Regions from separate parts of the Homo sapiens genome. Here regions 1, 2, 3, 4 and 6 are each linked to region 5. The links are contacts of gene promoters, found by promoter capture Hi-C in human tissues and cell types (Jung and others, 2019). All regions are on one chromosome and are shown on one strand. Each heading gives the region's core, a stretch centred on a gene start or on the middle of the fragment in contact. The rest is flanking DNA. Distances are from core to core; before and after follow the strand shown.

Region 1 (2,700 bases), core at 111-2,610, 770 kb before region 5:
ACTGCCTTTCTGCCTAATCTCAACTACTGACTTCACCTTCTTCCTGTTTGGTCACACCCCAGATTAACATTTTAATTACTACTTATAGACTGATGGCCCCTAAATCTACATCCCTGGCCCTTGACCAGTTTTCTGATTTGTATCTCCTCATTCTACATCTTTATCAAGATGTTTCTGAGCCACGTGAGCTCAGTTTACCCTACACTGAATTCTCTCTCCTCTCCTCTTATCCATGCTCACCATATTGCATCTCTTTGCAAATGGTTCTATCAGCCATCTGAGCACAAAAGCACAAATCTTGGGAATCATTCTGGTTTCATACTTTCTTCACCCCATTTTCCATACCCCATCAGCCACCAAGTCTTGTTTGTTCTGCCTCTTCAAAATCTCTCATCACTACTGTGGTCTCCCTCTGGCTTATTGCTGTCACCTTTATAGCTGGCATTCCCATCTTCAGGATCACCCTCTCTATTTCACATTCCATCCTTCTACAAGGAGGTATTCCTTTTTTAAAATTCAGCTCAAGTACTCCCTTCTCCTTAAAGCTTTCCCTGGCTTGACCATTTCTTCCTTTCTACCACCTGTCACATTGAATAGTTACTGTGTTTACCTCATTGCCTTTCTCTCTAAATTATGCATGAGACAACAGAAATTCAGCTTTATTTATCTTTGTATCCCCAATGTTCAGAATATGACAGATAGTCAGACTCATTGAATTGAATATCTCCAATGTAAATCCTGCTTCTCAGTGACTTCTGTGAATTCTAGACCTGCCCTTTACAGCCACCTCGAATATCTCATTCTTCTTTTTTGTGACAGAGTCTTCTTCTATCACCCAGGCTGGAATGCAGTGGTGGGATCTTGACTCACTGCAACCTCCTCCTACCAGGTTCAAACAATTCTCCTGCCTCAACCTCCTGAGTAGCTGTGATTACAGGCACCCAACATGATGCCTGGCTAATTTTTGCATTTTTAGTAGAGATGGGCTTTCACCATATTGGCCAGACAGGTCTTGAACTACTGACATCAGGTGATCCACCTGCCTTGGCCTCCCAAAGTGCTGGGATTACAGGTGTGAGCCACCATGCTCACCCTCATTCTTCTTTTGCTTGACGTTTCTTCAAGTATTTACAATGAACATTCACATTTTCCCCTACGTCTTTTCTTTTCCTGATGTAGTTGCAAATCTTTCCACTATCCCTGACTTTGTTTTCAGGACACTTGCAGATGCTGGTCAGCGTCTTCAGGAAATAATTGTATTACTCAATGTCATTTTTAGAATCAAGTCTGAATATCAGGATGGAGTCTGAGCCCCATGGGTACAGTAGCCTCCTTTGATAGTCACCTATAGTCTGTACTTATAATGCAGCCGAACATTGTGAGAGCTTTCTTAGATGTCATATCCCTTGTTATTAATAATGGTAGCTAGAGGGCAATTCAACATACAGATATATTTTCACGTAAAATGACAATTTCTGAAGAATTTTTCTCTAAGTTTAAGTGCAAGACTTCACATGTCTCTCCATTCATTTAAACTCTTTTCTTCTTGCCTTTCAAGATCCTTTTGGCTCTTTGTTATGTTACCTGAAATATTAACTATCTTTCCCAGTTTTGAGTCACTTGAAGACTTGGTTAATGGCTTTCCTCTAGGTTTACACAGAAATAAAATATCCAGATCTTCATTCAGCCCCTGTTTAAATTCAGATGTTTTTCTCAATATGTGTAACTTCGCATCCGTTCTTTCTGAGTTACTCTCAGTTAACAAAGTGGCCTTTTGTTTATCTTGATTTCTTTAAATACACTTATCACTAAACCATTCATACTAAGGGATCTCAGAAACTTTTTATTCAATAGAAAGAACAGCTTCAAGGGAATTTCTCCTTCAGGTCATTTCATTATAGACTGTGTAGATATGGGATGGATGTACAAGAAAAACCATACAACACAAATTGCTTCAGTAAGTTCACTTTTCTCAAGTGTTCAGAAACAAAGAGCTATATAAGGCATTTGAAGGATTTGTGCATGTCAAACAGAACAAGAGATCATTTAAGAGGAAGAAGTCACAGCAGCTACATGAAAATGAGGGAAATATATTCAATTGCTTAGAAGTTTATTTTATGGAATACCAAATATTTGTGATTTGCCTCTGAATTTTTTCTTTTAATCTAGAAGTTTTGGCTTTAAGTCAAATGTGCCATAATGTGCTTAATCAGCACTGGTGAGCAGACCTCTAAAAGTGGAATAGGAAGAATAAGGAATGGAACCAGGAAGAGGTACAGTGTTAAGAATTACCGAGAGCCAGTTATTAGGACTTCAGAATCACAGGTCAAAGCCACAGAATAGAATCAGAATATTGGCAGGAGGAACATTTAAAAGACCCTAGACAAAGAAGGAGAAGAAGAAAAAAAACCTTAGCGTGTCTTGTAAAGCCAAGGTGACAAGTCAGGAGAAGAGCAGGTCCAGCACAGCAGAGCTTTTAGGCACAGGAATGAAGCCTCAGCCAACATGCCTGAGAGAGCCTGAAATCTCACCTTACTTGGAAGGAAGTGCACAGCCCAAGGCTGACATTGACAGATTTCAGAGGAGATCATCTCCTGAAAAGAATCCCCTCCTTCGCAATCTCACACATCAGTGTTTCTACTTGTCCTCCTTACCTAACCATGCTGGTGCCTTTTAAAAGACCCAGATGCATCTCCTACT
Region 2 (2,846 bases), core at 241-2,740, 610 kb before region 5:
TTAAATGGGTATATTATTAATTCTAATTTTGGCCATCTAAGCTCTTATTTAGATCCAGTTTAAAAATAAATGAATAATGTTCATGACAACTTTTTGAGATCTTTGTTAATATTTTAAAACAATTTTATTATAATTGATGTCCTAAAAAGGCACTGTTTTCACATTTCATCATGCAGTAAATTGATCACATTTTTGAAAATTATCATTTCCTCTGTTAATCAATTGTCCTCCAAAGTAAAGCATATTTAAATGAAATATTTCTGCTAACCTGAACTTTCAACATTTAACTGATTTCTATTTCCAGAAATTCACTCTTTGTAACATACCACACACAAGCCCCAAGCAAATACAGGTATGTACACAAACACACAGACACACACGCGCATACACACACACACACACGATCACATATTTCATGCAAGGTTCTCCAATTACCAATTCAAGACAATGACACATGACTATTCAAGGAGGTAACATTGGCAAGCCATATTATGGCACCTTCATTATTTGTGCTCCAAATATCAACACACATTAAAATTAAAAATGAAAAGGCACAAATATAGTATTTCTAAGTGTTGGTCTAAACAACAGTTACCCAATGATTATTCTTATAGTATGCAACATTTGAAACCATTCACTACCTTCTCAGAAAAAGCCTTGCTTAGGTGACAAAGGGAAACAGGAACAGGCTAATAGCTCAAAAGGCGGGACAGAGTATCTATACCTATTTTGAAAGTAATGTATGCAGTTTAAAAATGAGGAGAAGGAGGCTATTAGAGCACTCATGTCAGAATACATTAAGTGTTTTTATCATTGCCTCAAGAACCCACAATACCAAAAATATACATAATAAATAAAAAAATAAATCAACTACCATATGATTCTGTTAGTATAATGGTAGGCATTATATTATCTGAAAAGTGGACATTTCTACAAACATGGATATTCTTACAGCACAGTGTTTGACATTTTTGGTACAAAATGTGCTACCAAACTAAAAAAAAAATCTTTATAATAAAATCCTTAAGATTTGCAATAAACTCTCGAGTAAGTAAGAAGAAGCTGAAATGTTCATTATACGGTATTTTTACTGAAGTCACTGTGGTTAGAAATATAGATTCAAGCGGTGAATTAAATCACAATGTGCCGGTGTGGTGCGCATTGGATATAAATGGATACATCAGTACTTTTCTGATATATGACAACATAATTCTATAGCCTGAGGGAATTTTTGTTTTCTTATAAGACCCTCGCAAAATCTTAAAACTGGAAATGTATACATATGTATGTATGTATGTGTATTTTTAAAATTGTATATTGCAAACTTGAGGCTCAATCTTACGATGGATTTAAGGAAGTGAATTTCTACTTCCCATAATACTCTTACACAGGATGAAGTATGAAGTTCCATCACCAGGTAAGAATCTTTCTTCTATCCCAAGAGATTCTTCCAATTTCAAATTTAAGTTACCACGACAAAGAATGAAACTACATAGAAAGTAATGAAGACAGGTGAAAATACGATCTTTTTAAACTCTAGGTTGTTGTGGATAACAAATGCTTAGTTGAGTTTTTTCAATGTAAATATGAATCCAAATGAATCTGGACATATTCGAATTGCTTCAGTTAACACCTAACAAAGAGATAGCAAAAATAAGGTCTATTTGAAAACACCTCAAGCTTCATTTTTTCTTTTGTCCTGAATTCAAACATTAAATAAACAAATTATACAAATTTTAATCTGAAGAATAGTTATGTTTGCAAACATAGGTATATGCGTTTTTTTCCAGTGACACACTTTTTCCCTTGTGGTCAAATATAAATCTTGCCCTTAAGAAGCACACTGGTCACCACCACAGTAAGTCAGATGTGGTACCCCAACACTGACTGCTTCTGCTTCTCCAGGACAATGCACCAGAACAAACCTCCCTTAAGAACACAACTATCAAACACTGAACGTGTATATGCATTTAAAGCTAAAATTCATTTATAATAAAGAACTGGCCCATGAAAAGCAGTTTATAAATAGTTTATCCTGTTCACATTATGCAGAATTTCAGTATCATCCACAATGTTAGTACAGTAACTGAAACACAATGAAGAAAAACGGGGAGTGAGGGGAGGTTCCTAGTGTGACCTGACATAGTCTAAGGGTTCTCTCCTTTTGTATGCATCTCCCAAAGGCAAGTATCAGTTAATTGTTTGAAGGAGAGTAGACTATCCAGGATTCATTTATTGTTCAGGTGTCTTTTCCAAAGTGTGAGAAAATAGGAGTCAATTCAATAATGAATATCTGTAATCCAAACCAATTTAACTACAATCAAGGATGTCTTTCTCATCTATTATCACAAACATCCCAGTTGCCTCCATCTAAAAATTTCTTTGAAAAGTTAAGACACAATTAATTATACCTTATTAATTCCCTCAAAAGCAAAAAAATATATGTACCATTCAGCATACAAAAGTTACACAGTAAAAGTGCATATGTATCTTTCTTAATTGGCCCACTCATTAAATTTGCATTTGGTCATCCTTACTTTTAACATGTACAGAATTCTTCGTATAAATGTAGGTCAGTATAAATTAAAAAAAAATTACTTCCACACAATACATGCTTTCTTCATGAAATCTTAACCTCAATCAGTTCTCAATAATTGTAAACTTAGAATAAACCCACAGTTTGTTGGACAGTTAACATACAAGACAAACATCATAAATGTCACTAAAAATCTAGGCCAACTCATTGCATATTTGCCCCCTGAAATGAAAAATAAATTAGAATTGAAGCAGTGTATTGCCATAACTTACCTTGAAGGTAAGAGGGTTCTCCCATATTTATAGAACTT
Region 3 (3,033 bases), core at 266-2,765, 540 kb before region 5:
GGTCAATGCAGATTCATCAGTTTAAAAAATGGGTCACTCTGGTGGGGAATGGTGATAATGGAGGAGGCTATGTCTGTATGGGTGCGAGGGATGTATGGAAAATCTTTGTAGATTCTGCTCAACTTCTTCAGTGAACCTAAAACAGCTTCAAAAACATAAAATCTATTTTTTTAAAAAATCACCTAACTGGGGGGTTCGAGGAGGGGAGATACAAATCTATTTTACACAAGAAAAAAATTGTTAAATTTGCTTCAGAAAACATACCCAAACAGGAAACAATGGTATTTTCTTTGTCAATAAATATAACATTATATTTTGTTATTTTTGTTTTTTGAATTTAATCTCAGCTCATACCTATAAAATAATATTTCAAAAGCATACTACTTTTTAGATATACTATCAATCTTCAGTTCTGCAGAAAATAAAAACACCTCTTTGTTTTTAATTGTTAACCCTAAATATTTTTACTTATTTATCTACTATAGGATGAAAGCAAATACACCAACTCCAAAGAAGTGTGTGTGTTGGGGGAAGGGGAGTATTTTCTAAATATATTCGTATTGCAGAGATGAGTATCTTCATCATACCTTCACTTTAGGTATATATACATATACGTATCTCCTATCTAACCTGTCCCAACCATGGTTTGAGGTGCAAAAATTTCATACTTGAGAATAAAAAAATCATTTTAATCTGCTAGCTTTTACCTATGTAAAGTTTAGTCTCATGTATTACACAATTCAGAATATAATGCTAATAATTATCCTGACCTCTTTTAGAACATATAAGCAGGTATAAAGAATACCAAACAGGAGCTATAGTTATGTTCAACATAAAGATAAAACGCCTCTAAAAGGGTACCTGTAAGAGCCATAATAAATACATGAAAAGCACACAGTTGTTATATAAGACATAACAAAACTTAAAACCAAGGAGAAGGCAAGAGCAAAAGATTTTAAAGCCAGTATGAACTAGTAAAAATAAATTTTTAAAGTTATAATTTTCTTAATTCCCTTGAGGCCAGGAGTTTGAGACAAGCCTGGGAAAGACAGTGAGACCCGTCTCTGCCAAAAAATAAAATAAACTGGATGTCTTCTAGAACTTTTCATTTACTGTGTTTTTAAAATTCACTTTGGCCAGACCCAGTGGCTCAGCCTATAATCCCAGCACTTTGGGAGGCTGAGGTGGGAGGATTACTTGAGGTCAGGAGTTCAAGACCAGCCTGGCCAACATGGTGAAACCCCATCTCTACTAAAAATACAAAAGTTAGCTGGGCATGGTGGCTGTGCCTGTAGTCCCAGCTACTCAGGAGGCTGAGGCAGGAGAATTGTTTGAACCAGGAGACAGAGGTTGCAATGAGCTGAGATCACGTCACTGCACTCCAGCCTGGGCAAAAGGGCAAGACTCTGTCTCAAAAAAATAGAAAATAAATAAAGAAAGAATAAAATTAATTTTAACATAATTTTCCTTTCTATCCCATTATTTTCTATGAGACCCTGCCCTTGCCAATTAAGGTTTTGCCAACTACAGTATTCTTCAAAAAGTTTATCCATGTCTATAGATAAATTGTATTCTACCCATGGTCCAAGAGAAAAGTCCAGGGATTTGTAGACTTTTTGATGTAATACAACCACCTAAAATAACATTTAAGCTATCAGGGGATGGCTGTCATTCTACTGAGCCCAGAAACACCATCATTGACCATATACCCAAGGTTTAGTACTACATCTTCACCAATCCTTAGCAAGGCTTTCCTTTTAAACTCCCTAAAATTGAGAGAAAAAGTTACATGTATAAAATTTCTTCCATAATAAGTCACTGGAATATAACTAAAATATTTATGCTATCAGTTATTGAATGAACCTGTAAGTATAGATTTAATACATATAATGTAAAGCTAACTAGCAAAAATAAAACACTACCTTGGGCAATAAATACTAAAACAAAGAAATATTTAATTCTTAAAGATATTAAAAAGATACCTCCACATTTAGTGACTATATGGGTGGTAAGGATATTAATAAAAAAAATCCAAAAAAGATACAAGTTCAAGTGAGAAACCTTTAAATGGCATGGCCAACCTCTCCAACCTACTACCCGTGTACTCTAGCCCCAATTTCTGCCTTTGCAGGCTTTCAAATTACTTGGAGTATCATTTCTTTAAACTCCTCTGCCACCTATGTTTAACTCGTCTTCTCCACCTGTGTAACTTGACTTTCAGAAACACTCTGCTCAAGGGTCATTTTCCTTGAAAGCCTCCCCTGATGCCCCTGCTCTGTGCTTCCAAGGCAACCTGAATAAACTGCCACGACAGCACTAATCACACAAGAAAAACAAATATTTGTTTAATCGTTCATGGTCCCTAGTCTCTGAATTCTAATCCCATACCTAGAAGTCTAGCATTCAGTGTCTGATAAATAGTGAGTATTTAAAAAATACATACTATGAATGAATAAGCTGTGAAAAGTTTTAGATACTTATAGAACAGCCAGATGATACTAAAAACACGTCTGAACTCAGGAAGACAGATATGGTTCATATTATAGATTTAATATTTTATTTTAATTTAGGATTGTAACTTCGGCAGATTAATACAAAATTCATCATCAAACAGTTTATGGGTGTATTGACAACCAGAAATATAAAATTTTCTTCATGTTGCTAAATTCAGCGTATGCTCTTTAGTTTGCCACTTAATTTCCCAGTTGCATTCAAAATATTCAACTGGCCACTCCCTTCTTTTTCAGTCTATTGCCTTGGCTTCAGTGATACCAACAAAATTTTCTTCCAACCTCTAGCTTCTTCCTTCTCAGCCTCTTTTGTTCCATTTCTTTCTACCAAAGTTCAAATGTGAAAGATTCATAGGGCTTACTCATAAGACCCCTTATCTTCTCCATACTATCTCCTTAAGCAATCTCATCCCTCACTCCCAGACATCAATTATAAACTGTACACTATTCCCAAATTTATTTCCAGTCCAAACCTCTTTGCTGAGCTCCAGACCTATACATCCAATTGCTACTAGGCATCTCT
Region 4 (2,773 bases), core at 266-2,765, 650 kb before region 5:
CAGTGTAATGAAATAGATTCAGTCTTGTACAGCCTAGAAATCTAACCCTGACCTATTTATTCATGACTGACACTGGTTTTAATGTCTTGCTGTGATTATAAGCATTACCAGATGGGCATGGCAGCTCATGCCTGTAATCTTGGCCCTTTGGGAGGCTGAGGAGGGCCAATCATGAGCCCAAGAGTTCGAAACCAATCCAGGCAACATGGCAAAATCTCACTTCTACTAAAAATAATAAATAAAAAAAATTCAGCAGGCGTGGTGTCATGCTCCTATAGTCCCAGCTATTTTGGAGGCTGATGTGGGAGGATCACCTGAGCTTGGGAAGTTTAGGCTGCAGTGAGCCAAGATCACGCCATTGCACTCCAGCCTGGGTGATAGAAGTGAGACAAAAAATAAAATAATTTTAAAAATAAAAAAATAAAAAAGCATTACCCTGTGAACTCCTTTAGGGCCTCAAGAGGGTATTTCATTTTTTCATCTTCAATATGTTCCTAAGTACTCATTTAAGTGTTGAATGTTAACAGAGACAAAATATTATTAGTCCAACAAATATGTCTTCTTGAGCAATGGTGGGATGTAATTTGAAGCGTAAGAAGCCTTCTTCCAACACCACCTCCCACCTCACATGATGCCTGGAGATTCTGCCCAGGAATGTTCTATAGGCGGTATCCTATAGTAGAAGTTCAATGGCTTTGAAAGAATTTGGCCTGTCCACTTTTAGCGAGAGTTCTTCCTCTTATTATTAGACCTAGATTCAATATATCAGAAATAAAGACTGTCACAACCAAACTCCAAATTAACTAAATTTTTAGGCTTATTTTTCACCCTTTGAGTGGAAAAACTAAAATTGTTTTTCTTCTGCTCTCAACCACAGTAACAATCAATCATCACAGAAGACTTCTGCTACCAAATATGTGGGGGTTTTTCCCCACCAAAAAGCAAGCAATCAATTCTGCAGCAGACACCACTGCGTGCCATCTAATTCAACTCAATTCTGACACTACCTACCTGGAAATAGTGTTAGATCCCACAGAGTGAGGGCTCAGTCCCTAAGATTACCCCACCCCAGCCCAGCTTCTGAGACCAGTTGCTAACCCCAGGTTGTTATTCTTGTGCTTCTGATCGACTGGCTATGAATCAGAGGTCTCATGACATCCAGCCCCTTAGATTTGAATAATTTGTGAGAACAGCTCACAGAACACAAGGAAACACATTTACTGGTTTATCAGAAAGGATATTAGAAAGGATACAGATGAAGAGTTACACAGGGCAAGGTATGGGGAGAGCTGTGGAGCTTCCAAGGCTCACCACCCTCCGGGGCTCACCATCCTCCAGGAACCTCCATGTGTTCAGCTATCTGAAAGCTCCCTGTCTTCTTGGGCCTTTTATGGAGACTTCATTGGGTAGGCATGATTGACAACAGTGTAGACATGAGATCTGATAAAAAGGGTATGACTTAATACTAATAGGCTGAGTGAGGAACCCAGCAAGGCCTGTCTGTTCAGATTTTTCTTGGCCTCTCTGTGCAGTATTCTTTCCTCCCAGGTATGGGGCAGGGCTCCTTCTGAGATGGGGGTCTTATGATCTACAATCAGACAAGCTAAGTCATAAAATTTCTTTTTGGATAGGTTGGGGAAGATTAGAGTCCTGCTTTGGAGGAAAACAAAGGAGCAGGTGAAACGAAGGCAGGAGAAGATCAGAGAGCAAACTTCTATTTTCTGAGGCCTGTTTCTGAGGCTCAATTCACCCCAACATTATAAGAAAAGCCTATAACAAGGGCTATGGGAGTTATGAGTCAGGAAGGATGAAAACATATATATATGATATATATATATATATATAACATATATATATGATATATATATATATAACATATATATATGATATATATATATATATAAATCATATATATATAATAACATCACACACCCCAATGTACTCCTTACACTCTCAAAGGAAAGAGAATCAACAGAAGAAAAGGCAGAACAATACAACCAGACAAAAGCTTTAGAAGTCTTCCTTCTTTTACTGTATCCACACATCATTGGTCAGAATAGGTCAGAATAGGCCAGCTTATGCTATAGTAATAAGCTCGGTAGCCTAACATAACAGAGGTCTCCTGCTCATACAAATTCTGCTGTGGGTCCAAATAAGTCTCTAGAACACTTTCCCTCCAGTGTTACTCAGCCATGCAAGCTGTGCATTTCAACACAAGTCCAGTTCAGGTGCCACGGTGGCTTGTCTATGCGTTGGCCTGGAAATGACACACATCTTCTTCAGTCACAGTCCCTGAGCCAGAACCAGTCTTGTAACCCTGCCTACCTGTGCAGGTGCTGAAAAACGTGAGGAAGCAACTGGGATGTTTGAGGAACACCACTGCCTTTCCCACATTAGTCACTAAGGGTATCAAGGAAAGAACACTAAAAGCAAGGAAGTGTTCATGGGCCCCTGACCCTGGTCTATGTCTGCCTTACTCTCCTACCAACACCAAGATGGGAATCCTGGGAGGTTCTTACACAGTTTTACATAGCAGGTAGAATCAGTTGGCAATAAAGCCTGGAGACTTGTCTCACTATTTCTGAGATTCTGGCCACCATCGCCGCCCCATCCATGGCTATGGTTATAAAAATCTCTCCTTAAAGTTGTAATTTCCAAATGATAGCTTGCCCCAAATATCAATGCTTCCCCAAAACAGTCTAAAAGACTTTCATGACAGATTCTGAAAATAGGGTCGAAAACACATTAAGGCCGGTCACGGTGGCTCATGCCT
Region 5 (2,804 bases), core at 182-2,681:
GATAAGGAAGGGGTCATTCATCATCGATTATGTTATCTCCATCCACGGTACCTCTTCAAACCAAACTGTGTATGGCTGAAGAAAACCAAGGATCTGGTAAGCTACAGACATGAGCAAATACTTTTAGTACTGAAAAAGAATTGAGAAATTAACTCATTACCTTTAACTTTAGAAATGAGCAAAGAAACCCAAAGAGGTTAACTATAATTAGTTCCTAGGTAAGAAGTTCTCTATATTTGCTATTTGCTTTGATGTTTGCATCCTTATCCTATTACATATTAATTTTTAATATATAATATCCTATTTTTTGAAAGCTAACATTTAAAATCTGAATCATGTTAAATAGAAAAGGAAATAAAATTTTATGTACATCTAATAATGCCTGCTCTGGTCAGACATAGGTACTGCCCTGGTGAAAGAATTTCAGGCCTGCAATAGAGAAATTCAGCAAAAGATAAAATACCACTTTCCTTTGCTGTTTGCAAATTGGATCCATAGTCATTTCTTCCCAGTTTTCCATTATTATTTCCTGAAGTAGAATGAGTTACAGCAAATCACCCCCAGATAGGTGATTTGATTATCTTTAGCATGTGGAATCTGTTACTCTCATAATGCTTATCAGCTCTGGCACAAATTGAACACATTAATCACCCAAAAAAAAGAACTCTGCAAGAAGGATAGGAACCAGTGAGTTTCACTGATAATGGGAAAATGGTTCTTTTTTTAAGGAACACATTGCTAATATTAAGCTGAAAGAAAAAGACAATTTTGAGGAAGAGAGTGATAACTATAACAATGGATAAGGAAAATTAATTTAAATGGATATTATGAGAACTGAGGCACTCAATCCTCAGGGCAAATCGTACTTTGGCAATTATTTATATTTGATTCTAATGAAAAGCATACCAGACTCCCTTTGGGACTTTTTTGGGATGTAAAATTTGGAGGAGGGCTGAAAAATCTGAGTTCGAAGATTAGCATCTTATCTTTTCCCAAATGAACATGGATTTGTGCCTTCAAATGGTTAACGCTTATCTCTATGCAGCTGGAAATACAACACAAATGGGAGCCTTTGAGTGTTCAAAGCAAACGTGGAACCAAAGCACTGCAGGAGAAAGGCAGGGCAGGGCAGCGAGGAGGGGACGACGGGGAGCTGCTATCAGTAATTCGCCCTTATCCCTGTGCCCAGCCTGCGAGGCTGAGCGAGACCCATCTATCACTGACGCACAGCCAGTCTGAGGCTTGTCCCTTTGACAACAACGTCCCTTTTGTTACCTTCCTATTATGCCTGGCAGCTTCTTGTCCATGAATTCCTGCATGCACTGGTGTTCCGTGGAATGGTTGAGAAACCTCCGGAAAGATTCAACATATTTCCCGTGGTCAGAAAACAAGCTCCTCATGGAAGATGCCATATTTGGTTTTCTGAGAAAGACAGAGCAGGAAGCAAGGTTTAAGTTCCCCTCCTTCTCTTCCCAGTTCCCTCTTTCTTTCCCCACCCCCACCAGTTTCTATCCAAAAAAAAAAAAAAAAATGCTAAGCTTGTTTTGAATTTAACATGCCACAAAGGCTGGCTTGTAGAGCTCATTACTGAGTCAATATTTGAACGGGACTTTGCACTGATACTTTAACCCCTATACGGTTGTTTTGTAAGAAATAGAAGTATTAAGCAAGGCTGTAAATCCACTGCTAAAACTTTTCAAATTCCTGAGGTTGAAAGGTCATAAAAACAAACTGTATTCAAATCACTTCCTGTTTTGTCAGCAAAGCCACAAGTAAGTTCCAAGTGGGAAAGTGACTGTTCGAAGTGGCAAACACCAGGATAAAGAGGACAGCTACACAGCACTCTCAGAAATCTACAGCAGTGAAATCTTTAACGGAAGACTGTCATCTGCCTCTGTGCTTTCTACGGGATTGTTTTGGGCCTTTACATTCCTCAGCACTTGAATTTTCAACTTATCTGCTGCATTTCTTCAAATGCTGATTTGTTGTAACTCAGAAATTATCTTAAAAGGAAGTCACGAAGGAGGAGCCCAAGAACTCGTAGCTAGAAGGTGTCAGAAGCTGCATTTAGGGGAATGAGAGTGGTAAGAGAAGTCTTGGAGCAAGAATGCAGGACACCAGGGTAAAAGTGCAGTCCATAGAATCCTTCCCTAAGCGCGCTGAACACGACGAGGTCATAGATACTTCGCTTGGCTGGATGAGCCTTTGGAAACCCAGTGGTGTCCCCACCAGAAGAGCCAAAGCTTCAGAGTACCCACACACAGTCTTTTTCCTGGGAAGAGGTCTTTAAGAAGGTCATCCTTTATCTAATATTGGGTTGTTAATAATAGCATCCAACTCATGGAGGAGTGCTGAGGATCAAATGAGTTAACTCATATAAGTCTCTTAGAAATATGTCTGCTTAAACCGTCCCTTCTTCTAATTGAGTTCCCAAGCTGCCCTCTAAGCATTCAAAACACTTCCCAACTCTCTTTTTTTTTTTGAGACAGAGTATCGCTCTGTCGCCCAGCCTGGAGTGCAATGGTGCGATCTCCACTCACTGCAACCTCCGCTTCCTGGACTCAAGTGATTCTCCTGTCTTAGCCTCCCGAATAACTGGGATTACAGGCACCCGCCACCACGCCTGGCTAATTTTTGTACTTTTAGTAGAGACAGGGTTTCACCATGTTGGCCAGGCTGATCTCGAACTCCTGATCTCAAGTGATCCACCCGCCTCGGCCTCCCAAAGTGCTGGGATTACAGGCGTGAGCCACCATTCCCAGCCCCCAACTCCCTTTTATAAGTATGTTTTGTTCTCACTATTC
Region 6 (2,700 bases), core at 63-2,562, 740 kb before region 5:
TTTTTCTTTATTTTAGTTTATTTTAAAGACAGGGTCTCACGGTGTTACCCAGGCTGGAATGCAATGGTGCAATCATAGCTCACTATAGCCTCATCCACCTGGGCTCAAGTCATCTTCCAGCCTCAGCCTCCTGAGTAGGTGGGACTTCAGGTACACACTACCACACCTGCCTACTTAAAAAAAAAATGAAGTCTTTCTATGTTGCCCAGGCTGTTCTCAAACTCCTGACTTCAAGCAATCTTCCCGCTTTGGCCTCCAAAAGTGCTGGGATTACAGGCGTGAACCACGACACCTGGCCTTAATTTTCATATAAAGAACAACTTTTTTCTCATTCATATTCATCAGCCTATCTAATAAATACTTTATTAAGTTACGTAATTAAAATGACAACTATAACTGGCATAAACAGGATGGGGACAAACAGCTGTCTCACATAAAATTCAAAATAATTGGATAGATCCTAGAGAACAGCCCACCAGCTGTGTGCATTCGGGATACTTGGGCATCAGCAAGATCCAATGGAGAACATTGGTTAATCTGGCCAATTGGTTAACATCCTTAAACAACTTCTTAACTTTTCTAGAGCATGTCATTTAATATAGACTACAGCAGCTCTGCTACTTTCTTGCTTACACTGCCAACTTAATTCCTTAAGCATCAGTTCCCTCAGCTGTAAAATAAGGATAGTAGAATAATACCTGCCTCTCAGGGTTGTTGTGAGGTCTAAATGAGATAACAGGCACAGAGAAAATTCTTAGTAAATATTTGTTATCTTTTTATTAATAGACATAGTATGTTCTGTAATGGTCAGACCACAGGCATAGATTGTTTTCCCTTAAAACACTCTGATACATAAAACTGTAAACACATACAGAGCAGAAATCCTGGTTTTCAACTTTGCATCCTTCTCACATTGTAAGGATTTAATAAATGTTTCTGGAATTCATTGATCATATTACATTTTTATGGGGAATATGAAGGAACAGGATCACAATCAGAGTGAAGTCACCAGGATGGTTATGAGAATTGAAGAATGGTTTTTGATTAAAAAGTGGAGGCATTTGGTCCGAAGAGGGGCTTACTCAGTAATACAAACATCCTCAGCTATATGAATGTTTATTTTATGAAGAATCACTGAGCTTGTTCTGTAAGACTCTAGAAAGAGAGAGAGAACAAGGACCACTGAATAAAGTTCTAGGCAGACAGATTTCAGCTTAGTAGAAACAAGAATTTTAACAGAGAATTTAAAGATGAAATAGGTTCCCTTGGGAGATAGTTAGCTCCCTGTCACACCACGTTCAAAGACAGGCAGGATGACCAACTTGGCAGTGATAGTGTAGAATAAATTCAGGGAATTCATTTAGATAATGGGAACTTCCCTCAAATTGTAATGGCAGCACCAAAATCAGTTACTGAGTAAAATCTACTAAGAGGGATTAGACAGAAGACACTCTGGGTCTTTAGACTGCCAAAATAAGCATAGTACTACATGTTATTGTTTCATCTTTACTATAAAAAGCTTTCTTTTTTAAAAGAATGATTATTTATTGTCTCAAAATGCCTCAGACATGACTTAAAATATACGTATATTTAATATGAGAATTCCATATATCAAATCAAGAAGGAAAAAAAGGATCTTAATGTTTATTTTTAATAATATTATTGGCCAGGCATGGTGGCTGATGCCTGTAATCTCAACACTTTGAGAGGCCATGATGGGAAGATTGCTTGAGGCCAGGAGTTGGAGACCAGCCTGAGCAACGTATCGAGACTCCATCTCTACAAAAAAATTTTTTTAAAAGACCAAGTGTGGTGGCTCACGCCTGTTATCCCAACACTTTGGGAGGCCGAGGCAGGCAGATCACCTGAGGTCAGGAGTTTGAGACCAGCCTGGCCAACATGGTGAAACCCTGTCTCTACTAAAAACATTCAAAAATTAGCCAGGCATAGTGGCGGACACCTGTAATCTCAGCCACTTGGGAAGTTGAGGCAGGAGAATCGCTTGAACCCAGGAGGCAGAGGTTGCAGTGAGCCAAGATTGTGCCATTGCACTCCAGCCTGAGTGACAAGAATGAAACTCCATCTCAAAAAAAAAAAAAAAAAATTAGCTGGGCGTGGTGGTGCACACATGTAGTCCCAGCTACCTAAGAGGCTAAGGTGAGAGGATCACTTGAGCCGAGGAGTTCAGGCTGCACAATTAAGACATGATTGTGCCACTGCACTGCAGACTTGCTGAGAGAGCAAGACCCTGTCTCTAAAAGCAACAAAAAATAAACCCTTAAAATATCACTACAGTAGAATCTTCTAAAGGAGCTAAATACCTTGAAGATGTGCAGGCTCCCAGTTCCCCTCCTTCTGATTTAATTGGTCTGAGATGGCATAAGCTTTCTAGGACTGTGTTTCTCAAACTATCTGTATAAATAACCAGCTGTTGTTTAGGTGCCAATCTGATGCTTTTATAACATGCACAATCAAATGATTAAATAATGTTCTAATATCAACTTGCCATAAAAGTTTCCAAACACAGAAGTATCTATCTTAGACTGCTGATAGTTTGTAGACTGTACTTCTTTAAGGGGCAGTGATTCTAACATAAAGCTGGAGTGACCAGCCCCTGGCTTACAGAGCCTGGGTTATATCTGTCAGTCATTACCTTCCATAGAACTTGTTTCAAGATGGTATATCTACTAGTATTTTATA

The links. The method cuts DNA at HindIII sites, captures the fragments that hold promoters and counts their contacts. A contact is called where the count stands out against the background at its distance.
Region 1: a fragment that was not itself captured here is called in contact with the fragment with the promoter of HNMT in region 5 in 1 of the 25 tissues and cell types used here (dorsolateral prefrontal cortex).
Region 2: a fragment that was not itself captured here is called in contact with the fragment with the promoter of HNMT in region 5 in 2 of the 25 tissues and cell types used here (H1 embryonic stem cells and dorsolateral prefrontal cortex).
Region 3: a contact is called between a fragment that was not itself captured here and the fragment with the promoter of HNMT in region 5, in 1 of the 25 tissues and cell types used here (hippocampus).
Region 4: a fragment that was not itself captured here is called in contact with the fragment with the promoter of HNMT in region 5 in 1 of the 25 tissues and cell types used here (dorsolateral prefrontal cortex).
Region 6: a contact is called between a fragment that was not itself captured here and the fragment with the promoter of HNMT in region 5, in 2 of the 25 tissues and cell types used here (dorsolateral prefrontal cortex and lymphoblastoid cells).

The regions. Positions count from the first base shown.
Region 1 is chr2:138,732,357-138,735,056 of GRCh38, reverse strand. The region is part of intron 1 of NXPH2 (neurexophilin 2); the gene reads left to right. Among named protein-coding and RNA genes, the nearest start is that of NXPH2, 47 kb to the left of the region's middle. The HindIII fragment of the contact is 6,849 bases long and covers 1-2,700 here.
Region 2 is chr2:138,569,555-138,572,400 of GRCh38, reverse strand. SPOPL (speckle type BTB/POZ protein like) reads right to left here. Exons shown (of 11, transcript NM_001001664.3): 11 at 1-2,846. Among named protein-coding and RNA genes, the nearest start is that of LINC02631, 31 kb to the left of the region's middle. The HindIII fragment of the contact is 5,359 bases long and covers 1-2,846 here.
Region 3 is chr2:138,506,731-138,509,763 of GRCh38, reverse strand. All of the region lies in intron 1 of SPOPL (speckle type BTB/POZ protein like), which reads right to left. Among named protein-coding and RNA genes, the nearest start is that of SPOPL, 6.5 kb to the right of the region's middle. The HindIII fragment of the contact is 6,857 bases long and covers 1-3,033 here.
Region 4 is chr2:138,609,132-138,611,904 of GRCh38, reverse strand. All of the region lies in intron 2 of LINC02631 (long intergenic non-protein coding RNA 2631), which reads right to left. Among named protein-coding and RNA genes, the nearest start is that of LINC02631, 8.9 kb to the right of the region's middle. The HindIII fragment of the contact is 6,437 bases long and covers 1-2,773 here.
Region 5 is chr2:137,963,100-137,965,903 of GRCh38, reverse strand. It overlaps HNMT (histamine N-methyltransferase), which reads right to left and starts at 1,431. Exons shown (of 6, transcript NM_006895.3): 1 at 1,276-1,431. The coding sequence starts at 1,412. The HindIII fragment of the contact is 6,466 bases long and covers 1-2,804 here.
Region 6 is chr2:138,704,228-138,706,927 of GRCh38, reverse strand. All of the region lies in intron 1 of NXPH2 (neurexophilin 2), which reads left to right. Among named protein-coding and RNA genes, the nearest start is that of NXPH2, 75 kb to the left of the region's middle. The HindIII fragment of the contact is 3,859 bases long and covers 1-2,700 here.